Regions from separate parts of the Homo sapiens genome. Here region 1 is linked to region 2. The links are contacts of gene promoters, found by promoter capture Hi-C in blood cells and fetal thymus (Javierre and others, 2016). All regions are on one chromosome and are shown on one strand. Each heading gives the region's core, a stretch centred on a gene start or on the middle of the fragment in contact. The rest is flanking DNA. Distances are from core to core; before and after follow the strand shown.

Region 1 (5,084 bases), core at 1,889-4,388, 260 kb after region 2:
TAAGGAAGTGCCAAAGCAGCTGTACCACTTTACATCTCCACTAGGAATGTATGAGAGTTCCATTTATCCATATAGTTGCCAACACCTGTTATTACTAATTGTCTTTTTTGTTATAGCTATTTTATTATAGCTATCCTAGTGGATGTGAAATGGTTTCTCATTGTGGTTTTGATTAGCATTTCCCTAATGACTAATGATGTTAAAAGGGGAAGAAAAAAACCTGTTTTTCTGTACAGTCACACACTTCTTTTTTTTTTTTTTTCGAGACTGAGTCTCACTCTGTCATACAGACTGGAGTGCAGTGGCATGATCTCTGCTTACTGCAACCTCCACCTCCTGGGTTCAAGCGATTCTCCTGCCTCAGCCTCCCGAGTAGCTGGGATTACAGGCATGCCACCACACTCAGCTAACTTATGTATTTTTAGTAGAGACGGGGTTTCATCATGTTGGCCAGGCTGGTCTCGAACTCCTGACCTCAGGTGATCGTCCCGCCTTGGCCTCCCAAAGTGTTGGGATTACAGGCGTGAGCCACCTTGCCCAGCCTCACACACTTCTGACACTAAAAGTGTGTGGGGTTTTCCCACCAACCAATTCTCCATTTCTCCCTGGACATCAATTAGGTGTCTTACAATTTAACTCAATTCTGACACTAATTGCCTGGAGTTACAACAGATCCCACAGGATAACGGGCTCAGTCCTGCAAGATGCCCCACCTCAGATGCCAGTTAAAAGTCTGGACCTCCCAAACTTCTGACCAACTGGTTATAAATCAAGGTTTCCTACAACCTTCTCCGAAGTTAAATAATTTGCTATAATGTCTTACAAAATTCAGGGAAACATTCACTTATGTTTACTGGTTTGTGAAAGGATATTATAAAGGATATAAATGAACAGCCAGATAAAGAGAGATATACAGGGTGAGGTCCTGAAGGGGAAGGGTCTCAAACATAATAGGTTCTGTTGGAGGTGGGGTATGCCACCCTTCTAGCACATAGTTATGTTCATCAAACCAGAAGCTCCCAAAATCCCATCTTTTAAGGATTTGCATGGAGGCTTCATCACGTAGGCATGTTCAAATAATTATTAAGTCAATCTCCCATCTCTCTCCCTTCCCTAGAAAATGGGAATAGGGTTGAATATTCCAGGCCTCTTATTATGGGTTGATCTTTCTGATGCCCAGTTGCCATCCTGAAGCTATCCAGTAGCCCACCAAGAACTGCTTCATAAGACCAAAAGGCACTCATAGACTATACAGGAAATTCCAAGGGATTTAGAAGCTCTATGTCAGAAACCAGGTTCAAAGACTAAATATTAGAAGATGCTTCCAGTACCCCGTCACTCAGGAAATAAAAAGGGTTTTAGGGGCTCTGTGTCAGGAACCAAGGCGGAGGACAAATATTTATTTCCAATTATGTCACAGATGTTGCACATCTTTTCATGTGCTTATTGCCCATTTGTATATCTTCTTTGGAAAAAAGCCTTTGGGTTGTCTTTTTATTATTGAAATATAAGGATTCGTTACATATTTGGGATACCAGTCTCATTAGATATATGATTTGCAATTTTTTGTTTTGTTTTGAGACAGGGTCTCTCTGTCTCTCGGGCTGGAATATAACGATGATTATGGCTCACTGCAGCCTTGGACTCTGGGCTTAAAGCGATCTTCCTGCCTCAGCCTCCCAATTAGCTGGGACTACAGGTGTGCCCACCATACCCAGCTATTTTGTTGTTGTTTGTTTTGAGACAGGGTCTTGTTAAGTTGCCCAGGCTGATCTCAAACTCCTGGCCCCAACCTTACCCCCTTGCAAAGTACCAAAATTACAGACATAAGCCACTATGCCTGGCAGATTTGCAAATATTTTCTACCAGTCTATGGGTTGTCTTTTCACTTTACTGATTTGTGATACAAAAGTTTTAAATTTTGATGTAGTCCAATTTAATATTTTTTTTCTTTTCTGCTTGTGCTTTTGGTGTCAGAGCTAAGAAAACCATTGCCTAATCCAAGGTCATGAAGATTTACTCTTTTAGGAGTTTTCTTTTAGGAGTTTTATGAGTTTTAGCTTTACATTTAGGTCTGTGATGCATTTGGCATTAATTTTTGTATATGGTGTAAGGAAGGGGTCCAACTTGATTATTTTGCATGTGGATATCCAATTTTTCCAGCACCATTTGACCATTTTGTTAAACAGAAAGTTATTTTCCTTTTTCCTGTTTTTTTTTTTTTTTTTTTTTTTTTTTTAGACAGTCTTGCTCTGTTGCCCAGGCTTGAGTGTGATCTGCCCACCTCGGTCTCCCAAAGTGTTGGGATTACAAGTGTGAGCCACACTCCTGGCCTTTTTTTTTTTTTTTTTTTTTTTGAGACAGTCTTGCTTTATCACCCAGGCTGGAGTGCAGTGACGTGATCTCAGCTCACTGCAACCTCTGCCTCTTGGGTTCAGGCGATTCTCATGCCTCAGCCACCCAAGTAGCTGGGATTATAGGCGTGCACCACCACACCCAGCTAGTTTTTGTATTTTTGGTAGAGACAGGGTTTCACCATGTTAGCCAGGCTGGTCTTGAATTCCTGGTCTCAGGTGATCCACCCACCTTGGCCTCCCAAGGGGCTGGGATTACGGGTACGAGACACTGCACCTGGCCTTTTTTTTTTTTTTTTCACTTATTTGACCTCTCAGCAATTGACAGAGTTCACTGCTCCCTCCTTCAAATACTCTCTACTATCTCGGTTCTCCTTTTACAGATTTTGCCATTTCTCTTTAGTCTTCATAGGTCCCTTGTCTTCTACTAAGCTTCTAAATATTGGGTTTTCAGTTATTGTCACTGTATTGCAAATTACCACAAAACTTAGTGGCATAAAACAATTATTTATTATGCTCACAATGTCTTTCAGTCAGAAATTAAAACTGGGTAAAGCAAGGTCACCTTATCTCTGTTCCAACTGGGGTCTCTGTTGGAAGACTCAGGCTGGGGGACTGGAATCATCTGAAGGCTTGTGAACTTACATGTCAAGCAATTGATAATGGCTACTGCCTGGGAGACCTCAGGCTACATCCACATGAGCCTGTTCATGTGGTTTCTCCACATGGCTAGTTTGGGCTTCCTCATGGCTTGATGGCTTGGCTGAGTATGAAGAGCAAGTATCCAGAGGGAGACAGAGGAAGAAAGAAGAGGAAGCCGGGGGAAGCCACGTGGCCTTTTATGAACAAACTTCAAAAGTCACACAGTATCACTTTTGCTACATTTTTTTCATCCGAGTAGTCACCACACCTCACCCATGTTTAGATTAGGAAGGGAAACAGACTCTATTTTTTTATGGGGAATGGCAAAGTTCTAAAATAGCATGCGGGACCAGGAATGCTGTTGCGGCCTTTTTAAAAATAATCTGCCACAGTCTTTTCTGGCCACACAATTCACATCCTTCCCATGTGCTAAATGCACTCACCCAACATCCCCTAAGATTTCCCAAAGTCTAATCCCATTATGGTATTAGGCTGAAGCTTGAGGTCCAAGATTTCATTGAGGCCAAGACCATGGCAGATAAGATTTCTTATCTGGCAAGTAAGGTTTCTTCCTTTAAAAAAAAATTCTCCAATGAGAGTTTAATTTTTATGTTTATCAAAGTGTATACTATATTAGATCATTTGTGTACCAGTAGTTACACTGATAAGGCAATGAAAAAGAAAATGTTTAACGCTGGAGCCTTATGGTCACAGAAAGTTTTTAAAAATTTAATTTCAATTTTCATACATATTTTTACTGCAGAGACATATTATATACTGCTTTGGCTGAGTCCCATAGGTTTTGGTATGTTGTGTTTCTGTTTTCATTTGTTTCAAGGAATTAGTCAATTTCCTTCTTAATTTCTTTCTTCACCCATTGGTTGTTTAGGAGCATGTTGTGTAATTTCCATGTATTTGTGTAATTTTGAATGTTTCACTTGTTATTGGTTTCTAGTTTTATTCCATAGTCAGATAAGATACTTGATATGACTTCAATTAAAAAAATTTTTTTAGCCTTGTTCTGTGTCCTAACATGTAGTCAATTCTGGAGAATGTTCCATTTGCTAATAAAAAGAATGCATATTCTGCAGCTGTTGGGTGAAATGTTCTGTAAATGTCTGTTAGAGCTATGCTATGGTTTATCTGATGTTTCCTTGTTGATTTTCTGCCTAGATGATTTCTGCAATGCTGAGTTGGGTGTTGAAGTCCCCAGCTGTTATTGTATTGGCATCTGTCTCTTCCTTTAGATCTAATAGTATTTTCTTTATGAATCTGGGTGTGCTGGTCTTAGGTGCATGTATATTTACAATTGTTATAGCTTCTTGAATTGTTTCCTTAATTACTATATAATGTCCTTCTTTGTCTCTTTTTATAGCTTTCGACTTAAAGTCTGTTTTAGCTGATATAAATATAGCTTTTCCTGCTTGCTTTTGGTTTCCATTTGCGTGGAATATCTCTTTCCATCCCTTCACTTTCAGTCTGTGTATATCCTTATAGATGAGGTGAGTTTCTTGTAGACAGCATATAGTTGGGTCTTGTTTTTGTTTTTGTTTGTTTGCTTTGTTGTTGTTGTTTAAATTCATTCAGCCAGTTTCTTTTAATTGGGAATTTTAACCATTTTACATTCAAGATTATTATTAATAGATGAGGACTTACTCCAGACATTTATTGACTGTTTTCTGAGTATTTTGTGTAACCTTTGTTCCTTCCCCTCCTATTATTTATTTTTGTGGTTGGGTTGTTTTCTGTAGTGATAAGATTATTTATTCCTTTCTCTTTCTTCTTTCTCTGTTGGCTCTCCTGGTGAATTTTATAATTTCACATATCTTCATGAGGGCAGTTATCATCTTTTTATTTCCAGATGTAAGACGCCCTTGAACATTTCTCTTGGACTAGACTAGTGGTGATGAATTCTCTTATTTTTTGCTTGTCCAGGAAAGATTTTATTTCTCCTTCATTTTTGAAGAATAGCTTTCCTGGGTATAATATTCTTGGCTAGCTGAGTTTTTTTTCTTTCTGTACTTTGACTATATCATCCCTTTCTCTCCTGGCCTGTGAAGTTTCTGCTGAGAAAGCTGCTGCTAGTCT
Region 2 (5,608 bases), core at 3,076-5,575:
CTCTCCTATGTCTCCAGAAACAGCCTAGTCAACCTGAAAATGTCTCGTTATTGGAATACTCTGACAGGTTAACTATAGACATTAACAGCAATAGGTCCTTCCTACCCTTAGAATTACATCAAGATAGCTACACAAGTCAGAAATGCAACATGTCAGAAATACTCAATAAAGATCCTGATAGATTATAAGCTCCATGAGGGCAGAGAATCTATCTTGTTTACCCTGTCATCTGGCACATAACTAGCATTTAATCAATATTTAATCTTGTTTTAGTGATCTAGTCTTCAGAGTGCTAATCCTGAATGTAGACCCCAGTCATAGGATTACTGTGGATCAAGTCAAAGAAAATAAAATATATAAAAGTACTCTACTTCGGCACTTTTACAATTATAGACTTTTTTTGTTTTGTTTTGTTTTTGAGACTGAGTTTTCCTCTTGTCGCCCAGGCTGGAGTACAGTGTCATAATATCGGCTCACTGCAATCTCTGCCTCCCATGTTCCAGCAATTCTCCTGCCTCAGCCTTCCAAATAGCTGGGACTATAGGTACCCTCCACCACCCCCAGTTAATTTTGTATTTTTAGTAGAGACGGGGTTTTACCACATCGCCCAGGCTGGTCTTGAACTCCTGACCTCAAGTGATCTGCCAGCCTCAGCCTCCTAAAGTGATGGGATTACAGGTGTGAGCCACAGTGTCTGGCCTAATTGTAAACATTTTTAAAAAACGTCTCAGCATTAGCATTCTGCTGAGCTAGGTATTCTATAAGGATTTATTCCAACTGAATATGCGCATTAGAATGCTGTAAAAACTGAGAAACAGACTCAGATTTATTATGTACTTTTTTGTGTGATAAGTACTGTATATGTGTTAATTTAATCTTGACCAAAACCCCAGGAGATATTATCTTCTACTTGCAGGTGAGGAGACTGAGTAACTTGCTGAAGGTCACATAGTTGGTAACTTCCAGACATGTGATACAAATCCAAATCTGTGTGACTCCGCAGCCCATGCTGGTTTGCCCATAGCAATGTCTCTCAAATTTTTTCATGAAGTAACCTCAAGTTGCAAGAAAAACCAAAACATATTCCCGGGGGGGGTTTGGGAGATTACTGAAGTATCCAGTTTAAGCCTGATGTGTCTCTGACCTCATACTTTTCTCTTAAATTTTATTTTTATATTTGCATTTTACCCCCACATTTTGTTTTTATTTCTATACATATATTTTTTTTTGAGATGGAGTCTCGCTCTGTCACAGAGGCTGGAGTGCAGTGGCATGATCTTGGCTCACTGCAAGCTCTGCCTCCCGGGTTCACACCATTCTCCTGCCTCAGCCTCCCAAGTAGCTGGGACTACAGGTGCCTGCCACCACACCCGGCTAATTTTTTGTATTTTTAGTAGAGATGGGGTTTCACCGTGTTAGCCAGGATAGTCTATCTCCTGATCTCGTGATCCGCCCACCTCGGCCTCCCAAAGTGCTGTGAAACAGGCGTGAGACATCACGCTCAGCTAATTTATTTATTTTTAGAGGGAGTCTCTCTCTGTTTCCAGGCTAGAGTGCAGTGGCCTGATCTCACTCACTGCAACCTCTGCCTCCTGGGTTCAAGCTATTCTCCTGCCTCAGCCTCCTAAGTAGCTGGGACTATAGGCACACATCAACATGCCCAGCTAATTTTTGTGTTTTTAGTAGAGACAGGGTTTCGTCATGTTGGCCAGGATGGTCTTGATCTCTTGACCTCATGATCCACCCGCCTTGGCCTCCCAAAGTGCTAGGATTACAGGAGTGAGCCACCGTGCCCGGCCTACCCCATGTTTTATTAAAGTTTATTTTCTTTTTCAAAAATTTTAATGATTTATCCACACTACACAGATGTAATGTCTGCTTAATATAAACCATTTCAAATGACTTAGGTAAATCATTTAACTCTTCCCTCCCTGAAAGATTTTTTTTGAGAAAAGTGATTACACAAGAAGGTGCACCTTCCATATTTATCCCATAGCTTTGTTTAGTTCCTAGTGCGTGGTTTCAAAAACCTGGATCCCAGTTTGAAAGCATGACTACAGAGCAAATTGCATTAAAGACATCTTAAGAATGATGATGAAAATAATTATTATAGGCAAGGGCCAGAAGATTTTTTTTTTTTTTTTTTCTGAGATGGAGTCTCGCTCTGTCGCCCAGGCTGGAATGTGGTGGCGTGATCTAGGCTCACTGCAAGCTCCGCCTCCTGGGTTCATGCAATTCTCCTGCCTCAGCCTCCCGAGTAGCTGGGACTACAGGCGCCCACCACCGCACCCAGCTAATTTTTTGTATTTTTAGTAGAGACGGGGTTTCATCATGTTAGCCAGGATGGTCTCGATCTCCTGACCTTGTGATCTGCAGAAGATATTAATAGCACTTAAATTATACAGCTATAGATAGAGTTGAGTGGGGGTTTTTTTGTTTTTTTTATTTTGCTTTGTTTTGTTTTTGAGATGGAGTCTCGCTCTGTCGCCCAGATTGGAGTGGAGTTACGCAATCTCAGCTCACTGCAACCTCAACCTCCCGGGCTCAATTGGTTCTCCCACCTCAGCCTCCCAAGTAGCTGGGACTAGAGGCATGTACCACCATGCTGGCTAATTTTTGTATTTTTTGTAGAGATGGGGTTTTGCCCTGTTGCCCAGGCTGGTCTCAAACTCCTGAGATCAAGCGATGTGCCCTCTTTGGCCTCCCAAAGTGCTTGGATTCCAGGCTTAAGCCACTGTGCCAGGCCAAAGTAGTTTTGAACTTTCCACTGTCAACGAAAGAAATTCTAAACACGACTGATTCCACTGAGTTTGACCAAACTAACTGAAGACTTATTGTTGAATGTGGTAATACCATGTTTTTTCTTCACCCAAGAATCTGGGTGCTTTATAAGCATAAGCATGAAATCTCCCTGAAGATAGTATTTATGCATCCACTGAGCGCTCAAATATAGACCATATTAGAAGTTAAGCAATGGGTTGAGTGGCCAACCACATTTTGGCCAGTCCTACAAGACTTTCTTTGACCTACCAAATGGGGTATAAATGCTTCTCGTATTCTCCCCGCCAGTAGGGACTCAAAATCTTAATAGCTCGGGGTAGTAAAAAGGATGCTAGGTTTGAATCTTGGCTTTAAGAAAACTGTGCTGAGGTGTTTTGTTTGTTTGAGACAGGGTTTCACTCTATCACCCAAGCTGGAGTGCAGTGGCGTGATCATAGCTCACTCCCAGGCTGAAGGGATCCTCCCACCACAGACTTCTGAGTAGCTGGGACGACCGGTGCATGCCACCATGCCCGGCTAATTTTTTGTACTTTTGGTACAGACAGTGTTTCGCCATGTTGTCGAGGCTGGTCTCAAACTCATGAGCTCAAAGAGATCCACCTGCCTCGACCTCCCAAAGTGCTGGGATTACAGGCACGAGCCACTGCGCCCGGCCAGCTTTTTTTCTTTTATCAGAATTGATATTAAACTATATGCTGAGCTTCCATGTCCTTATCTTCCTTTTGGCATGGCTATGGCCATTTGAAATGTGTGGGATTTGCTAAAGTGCTCAACATACGTTGTTTCCTTTTTTAGATCTAAGTATGTAGAGGGCTCTGATTTGCAATATTTAGAAAGTTCTTCTAAGCTGGGAAGAAAAGTCAAGACTAAGAATCATTGCCAACAGGGCCGGGCGCGGTGGCTCACGCCTGTACTCCCAGCATTTTGGGAGGCCGAGGCAGGCGGATCACGAGGTCAGGAGTTCGAGACCAGCCTGGCCAATATGGTGAAACCCCTTCTCTAATAATAATACAAAAATTAGCCGGGCATGGTGGCGTGCGCCTGTAATCCCAGGTACTCAAGAGGCTGAGGCAGGAGACTCACTTGAACCCGGGAGGCGAAGGTTGCAGTGAGCCGACATCGTGCCACTGCACTCCATCATGGGCAACACAGTGAGACTCTGTCTCAAAAAAAAAAAAAAAAAAATCGCCAATAGGTAGGGAATAAGTTACCCCCTGCTAAATAAGTTACACTCACCTAGGCAAGGAAGGAACTCATAAACCACCTTCTAAACTGCTTGCCTTCCTCCCCGAAGTTCTGTAATTTAGAGGCGGTCACTACCACTGCTTGAACACCCCTTCCCAAGTCTGTACCACAAAAGGAGCTCTTGTGTAGCCCAGCCCCTCCTTCTCAGGACCCCAGGAGCCCAGACACACTAATGGGGACATTAGTTGCTTACTTTTCCAGCTACTGCTTAAGCTAGGCAGGCCATGAAGAAATAACGGTCTCAGTAACCTCCATGCTCGGGATACGACTCCCGGGAAGACGTGGGTGGGTGCGGGGAATGCGGACTGATCCCTCCCAGCGGCCGTTGGGGGCTGGCCCACAATCCCTCGCGAGGGCGGGAAAAGCAATGTGGTCGTTGCGGGGGGGGGGGGTCAGAAAAGGGGGACGGTCAGCGGGAAGAGCCAAGAGACTGCAACTCTACAAAGAGCACGCAGATTAATTCTAATGATTGTTCCCTGAGCTTTTCACACCAAAATAATGGTAACTGGCTAGTGTGTGCCCGTTACGCTCACTACTCCCACTCGAGATCATTCCTATTAATGACTCTGAGGCTTCACCTAACAGGCCACGGTGGAGGCAAGGAAATGTGGCGTGGAGAACCCACTGGGCCTGGCTCTCCGTCCTATGGTCTCCGTCCATCGTTTTACAGTCAGGGTGTACATTTGATGAGGAATCTCTAAATGGGATTTTGGGGAATCAAAACGGAATGGTGCATAAGTGTGAAAATTTACAAGACTGCGCAAAGCTGCAAGGCCCGGAGCCCCGTGCGGCCAGGCCGCAGAGCCGGCCCCTTCCGCTTTACGTCTGACGTCACGCCGCACGCCCCAGCGAGGGCGTGCGGAGTTTGGCTGCTCCGGGGTTAGCAGGTGAGCCTGCGATGCGCGGGAAGACGTTCCGCTTTGAAATGCAGCGGGATTTGGTGAGTTTCCCGCTGTCTCCAGCGGTGCGGGTGAAGCTGGTGTCTGCGGGGTTCCAGACTGCTGAGGAACTCCTAGAGGTGAAACCCTCCGAGCTTAGCAAAGGTAACGACTCCTGATGGCAAGCTGAGGCACACCGGCCGCCGTCAGCGCCGCCTCAGTCTTCGTTCTCTCGCCTCGGCCTTCAGCCCAGTCTCCGTTAGATTCTGCTTCCTCCCACGTCCATGTTTACAGCGTGAAAGAGCTCCTCGACTCCACTTACAAGTTGTCTGAATGGTTAGGAGAACTGTGGTCGTGAAAACATTTACTAATTGCTTTTCCTCTGGCAATGCCTGCTGAATGCTTTGAGGATTGTCTCATTTAACCCTCAACCCGCTTACGTAGATTATTATATTCAGTATATGGATGAGAGAACTGATATCTTGGGGAGCTTAGGTAACTTTTCATGCTAACTGGGTTAGGAAATACTGGAGTCAGAATTGGTTGTCTAATTTTTGCTGTTCCAAGATCCAAGGGGTAAGGGTTAAATTTCAGAAATGCAGGATTTTGTGTAGGACTAGAGACACTAAGAATGAGAAAGAGAGTAGAATCCCCGGAATCTTGAGGAAGCATAGAAAGAATATTCTCTTACGTAATTAACTGAA

What was found. Contacts are between HindIII fragments. The CHiCAGO score rates a contact against its expected background, and 5 or more counts as called.
Region 1: a contact is called between a fragment that was not itself captured here and the fragment with the promoter of TEX14 in region 2, in 2 of 17 cell types (M0 macrophages and monocytes). The highest score is 5.2, in M0 macrophages.

The regions. Positions count from the first base shown.
Region 1 is chr17:58,944,900-58,949,983 of GRCh38, forward strand. The region is part of intron 1 of PPM1E (protein phosphatase, Mg2+/Mn2+ dependent 1E); the gene reads left to right. Among named protein-coding and RNA genes, the nearest start is that of TRIM37, 160 kb to the right of the region's middle. The HindIII fragment of the contact is 708 bases long and covers 2,785-3,492 here.
Region 2 is chr17:58,687,720-58,693,327 of GRCh38, forward strand. It overlaps TEX14 (testis expressed 14, intercellular bridge forming factor), which reads right to left and starts at 4,326. Exons shown (of 32, transcript NM_031272.5): 1 at 4,220-4,326. IGBP1C (IGBP1 family member C) reads right to left here and starts at 4,326. Exons shown (of 2, transcript NM_001395966.1): 1 at 4,220-4,326. RAD51C (RAD51 paralog C) reads left to right here and starts at 4,883. Exons shown (of 9, transcript NM_058216.3): 1 at 4,883-5,069. The coding sequence starts at 4,925. RefSeq lists enhancers at 4,641-4,740, 5,071-5,240. The HindIII fragment of the contact is 6,974 bases long and covers 1-5,608 here.